2 separate regions of the Homo sapiens genome follow, and region 2 is linked to region 1. The links are contacts of gene promoters, found by promoter capture Hi-C in blood cells and fetal thymus (Javierre and others, 2016). All regions are on one chromosome and are shown on one strand. The core of a region is centred on a gene start or on the middle of the fragment in contact, and the rest is flanking DNA. Distances in the headings are between cores, read along the strand shown. Region 1 holds the start of RPS6KL1 (ribosomal protein S6 kinase like 1). Region 2 overlaps MLH3 (mutL homolog 3).

Region 1 (2,524 bases), core at 9-2,508:
GGGTGGTAGGTAAAGAAGTGAGGCCTAGAGTGTATTTTGGTTTGTTTTCTTGTTTTGCTTTTAAGAGGGGAGAAACAAGCATTATGTTTGTATCAGGTGGGAATTATCTAGTGGGAGAGACGGGAGAATCGCTGGAGTGGTGTCGCTGAGTAGGTGATGGCACGGGACTGATGCCCACCTGGAAGGGTGGCCTTCGATGGGGCACAGACAGTCACCTGTGGAAAAAGGTTGGAAGCAGAGTGTGGGCACAGCCCCGCCCGCGGGCCAAGAGCAAGCCTGTGGGAGTCTGTGCGCCACTGCTGTCAAGGGAAGGATGAAGCAACAGTGCTGGCTGAGAGTGAGGATAGGGGGACGGGTGGGAGTCAGAGGGAGAAAGTATGAAAGGGTGTCTAAGGTAGAGCAAGTGCAGCCGGGGGACAGTGTGAAGCCAGTCAGCACTGAACCTGCAGGTGAGATCTGTGTCACAGGGTTGCCTGTGATCTGTTGCCCCATCACCCAGGCTGGAGTGCAGTGACACGATCTCGGCTCGCTGCAGCCTCAACCTCCCGAGCTCACTCCATCCTCCCACCTCAGCCTCCTGAGTAACTGGGACCACAGGCACACGCCACCATGCCCAGCTAAATTTTGTAATTTTTATAGAGATTGGGTCTACCTATGTTGCCCAGGCTGGTCTTGAACTCCTAGGTTCAAATGATCCTCCCGCCTCAGCCTTCCATAATGCAGAGATTACAGGCATGAGCCACCGCACCCGGCCTATGTCTTGAATTTTAAGCTCGGTTCTGATATCAAAAGCCTTCTATTGCTGGGTTCTTTACTCTCGGTAGCCCTCACTAGACTGTAAGCCCCATGCGGATGTAAACAGCGCTGTCTAGTTCACGGCTGTATCTCAACATCCAGCTCCTCATGCATGGGAGACTCTCAATACATAGCATTGAATCGTTGAATAAATGAATGAAGCAATGAATGAGAAAAGTCCTAGAAGTGGCACGTCTAGATTTCTGAAGCAGCCCCTTCCGCATCCCTGGATGATTCTAGACCTGCTCTCCCCACCCACCCCACATCCCATCCCACCCTCCCCTCTCTAAACCGCCCCCCGCCCCTCACAGCCCAGCCGTGCAGACCTTGCGGCTTTAAGGCCGGCAGGAGCCGAGCCGGGCGGTGATTGGTGGTTTATTCTAAGGCTCAAGTATGAGCTCATCCGCAGCCAATGGCCGCGCTGCACCGGCTGGCCCCGCACGCTGGATGCCGGAAAGCAGCGGCCCGCGGCGCGCTCTGGCGTGAAGGGCCGGTACGTGAGGGGGAGGCCTGGCCCGCGGACCCGGCTCCCAGCTCGGGCAGGTACGGTGTTTTGTCCGGTCCCTTCTCCACCCTCCCAGGCGAGGGGCCCCCTCGGCCGTCCCTCCACCCTGGGACCGTGCACCTTGCGGCTGGGGCCCCGTGGGTTGCACGCGCCGCTTTCTGTGTCCAGGCGGGGCCGGCGGCTCTGCCCGGCAGGACCCTGCCCGGCGGGGTGGACCCTGAAGCCAGTCCTACCCGGGCACCCCCCAGAGCAAGGCCTCAGAGCCTCAAGTTCCCCTGGGCTTGGCCGAGCAGGGATGGTGCGGCCTCCCTCTGCCTCCTGGCCGCATCCTGGCCGGGATTCAGCTCCCCGCCGGCTGAGGCTGTGGGTCTCCCTCCCCGCCCCACCGCCCATCCTGCTCTCTCCTCTTTCTCTCCAAATGACCTGGGGTTGGAAGTTCCGGGTCCTGCCCATTCCCAGTGGGACCTGGGAGAGCAAAGGCGGGGTAGCTTTGTGGGCCTCTCTCTGAGCCCCTTCCCTTCCCGCAGCCACGGCTGTCATCCCTTTGGCCGCCTGGGTCACACATTGCTCAGGAAGAAGCTGCTGTCAGGTCCTTGGAGGCCACATGACCTTCTCAAAAGTAAAGCCAGGAGGACAGAGCGACCCTCCCTGGGGCTGGGTCACCCTGCCCTCTTCTACCCCCCATCCAACGTGGCACCGAGTCTGCCACTCAGTCATTCCGTCTGCCAACAGTTCTTACAGCCCAGCTCTGTGCTCTGCTCTCTGCTGGCTCCAGGAGGGGTCCTCACTCGCTGACCACACTGACCTCAGGACCAAGGGAACAAAACACAGCAGGGGCAATCCATCCGGTCCACGGAGAAGTGCTAAACCCCAAAGGGTAAATGAGATTCCCACAGGAGGAGCAGGGAGGAGACAACAGGCAGGGTGGAGGGAACAGCATGAGGAACAGCATTTGAGCCCAGCGTGTGTGGCCTCCATGTGCTGAATGCGTACTGGATACCAAGCTTGCTCTACGGAGGCCCTGTGAAGGTGGCTGTGGATCACAGATATCCTCAGCTCTCTCCAGAGCTCAACACAGTACCAGATGCTCCAGAAATGTTTGCTGAACTGAATTTGACTGGAAAGGAAAACAGAGCCCCAGGCCTGCGCGGTGGCTCACGTCTATAATCCCAGCACTGTGGGAGGCCGAGGCAGACGGATCACTTGAGGTCAGGAGTTCAAGAC
Region 2 (2,524 bases), core at 19-2,518, 130 kb before region 1:
GGCCATAAGCTCCTTGGGCCAATGTGTTGAGGAACTTGCCCTCAACAGTATTGATGCTGAAGCAAAATGTGTGGCTGTCAGGGTGAATATGGAAACCTTCCAAGTTCAAGTGATAGACAATGGATTTGGGATGGGGAGTGATGATGTAGAGAAAGTGGGAAATCGTTATTTCACCAGTAAATGCCACTCGGTACAGGACTTGGAGAATCCAAGGTTTTATGGTTTCCGAGGAGAGGCCTTGGCAAATATTGCTGACATGGCCAGTGCTGTGGAAATTTCGTCCAAGAAAAACAGGACAATGAAAACTTTTGTGAAACTGTTTCAGAGTGGAAAAGCCCTGAAAGCTTGTGAAGCTGATGTGACTAGAGCAAGCGCTGGGACTACTGTAACAGTGTATAACCTATTTTACCAGCTTCCTGTAAGGAGGAAATGCATGGACCCTAGACTGGAGTTTGAGAAGGTTAGGCAGAGAATAGAAGCTCTCTCACTCATGCACCCTTCCATTTCTTTCTCTTTGAGAAATGATGTTTCTGGTTCCATGGTTCTTCAGCTCCCTAAAACCAAAGACGTATGTTCCCGATTTTGTCAAATTTATGGATTGGGAAAGTCCCAAAAGCTAAGAGAAATAAGTTTTAAATATAAAGAGTTTGAGCTTAGTGGCTATATCAGCTCTGAAGCACATTACAACAAGAATATGCAGTTTTTGTTTGTGAACAAAAGACTAGTTTTAAGGACAAAGCTACATAAACTCATTGACTTTTTATTAAGGAAAGAAAGTATTATATGCAAGCCAAAGAATGGTCCCACCAGTAGGCAAATGAATTCAAGTCTTCGGCACCGGTCTACCCCAGAACTCTATGGCATATATGTAATTAATGTGCAGTGCCAATTCTGTGAGTATGATGTGTGCATGGAGCCAGCCAAAACTCTGATTGAATTTCAGAACTGGGACACTCTCTTGTTTTGCATTCAGGAAGGAGTGAAAATGTTTTTAAAGCAAGAAAAATTATTTGTGGAATTATCAGGTGAGGATATTAAGGAATTTAGTGAAGATAATGGTTTTAGTTTATTTGATGCTACTCTTCAGAAGCGTGTGACTTCCGATGAGAGGAGCAATTTCCAGGAAGCATGTAATAATATTTTAGATTCCTATGAGATGTTTAATTTGCAGTCAAAAGCTGTGAAAAGAAAAACTACTGCAGAAAACGTAAACACACAGAGTTCTAGGGATTCAGAAGCTACCAGAAAAAATACAAATGATGCATTTTTGTACATTTATGAATCAGGTGGTCCAGGCCATAGCAAAATGACAGAGCCATCTTTACAAAACAAAGACAGCTCTTGCTCAGAATCAAAGATGTTAGAACAAGAGACAATTGTAGCATCAGAAGCTGGAGAAAATGAGAAACATAAAAAATCTTTCCTGGAACATAGCTCTTTAGAAAATCCGTGTGGAACCAGTTTAGAAATGTTTTTAAGCCCTTTTCAGACACCATGTCACTTTGAGGAGAGTGGGCAGGATCTAGAAATATGGAAAGAAAGTACTACTGTTAATGGCATGGCTGCCAACATCTTGAAAAATAATAGAATTCAGAATCAACCAAAGAGATTTAAAGATGCTACTGAAGTGGGATGCCAGCCTCTGCCTTTTGCAACAACATTATGGGGAGTACATAGTGCTCAGACAGAGAAAGAGAAAAAAAAAGAATCTAGCAATTGTGGAAGAAGAAATGTTTTTAGTTATGGGCGAGTTAAATTATGTTCCACTGGCTTTATAACTCATGTAGTACAAAATGAAAAAACTAAATCAACTGAAACAGAACATTCATTTAAAAATTATGTTAGACCTGGTCCCACACGTGCCCAAGAAACATTTGGAAATAGAACACGTCATTCAGTTGAAACTCCAGACATCAAAGATTTAGCCAGCACTTTAAGTAAAGAATCTGGTCAATTGCCCAACAAAAAAAATTGCAGAACGAATATAAGTTATGGGCTAGAGAATGAACCTACAGCAACTTATACAATGTTTTCTGCTTTTCAGGAAGGTAGCAAAAAATCACAAACAGATTGCATATTATCTGATACATCCCCCTCTTTCCCCTGGTATAGACACGTTTCCAATGATAGTAGGAAAACAGATAAATTAATTGGTTTCTCCAAACCAATCGTCCGTAAGAAGCTAAGCTTGAGTTCACAGCTAGGATCTTTAGAGAAGTTTAAGAGGCAATATGGGAAGGTTGAAAATCCTCTGGATACAGAAGTAGAGGAAAGTAATGGAGTCACTACCAATCTCAGTCTTCAAGTTGAACCTGACATTCTGCTGAAGGACAAGAACCGCTTAGAGAACTCTGATGTTTGTAAAATCACTACTATGGAGCATAGTGATTCAGATAGTAGTTGTCAACCAGCAAGCCACATCCTTAACTCAGAGAAGTTTCCATTCTCCAAGGATGAAGATTGTTTAGAACAACAGATGCCTAGTTTGAGAGAAAGTCCTATGACCCTGAAGGAGTTATCTCTC

The links. Contacts are between HindIII fragments. The CHiCAGO score rates a contact against its expected background, and 5 or more counts as called.
Region 2: a fragment that was not itself captured here is called in contact with the fragment with the promoter of RPS6KL1 in region 1 in 1 of 17 cell types (endothelial precursors); the score reaches 5.5 in endothelial precursors.

Annotation. Positions count from the first base shown.
Region 1 is chr14:74,921,994-74,924,517 of GRCh38, reverse strand. RPS6KL1 (ribosomal protein S6 kinase like 1) reads left to right here and starts at 1,258. Exons shown (of 12, transcript NM_031464.5): 1 at 1,258-1,338; 2 at 2,033-2,524. RefSeq lists silencers at 1,033-1,092, 1,183-1,592 and enhancers at 963-1,733, 1,734-2,505. The HindIII fragment of the contact is 5,428 bases long and covers 1-2,306 here.
Region 2 is chr14:75,047,082-75,049,605 of GRCh38, reverse strand. It overlaps MLH3 (mutL homolog 3), which reads left to right. Exons shown (of 13, transcript NM_001040108.2): 2 at 1-2,524. Among named protein-coding and RNA genes, the nearest start is that of MLH3, 3.1 kb to the left of the region's middle. The HindIII fragment of the contact is 1,843 bases long and covers 347-2,189 here.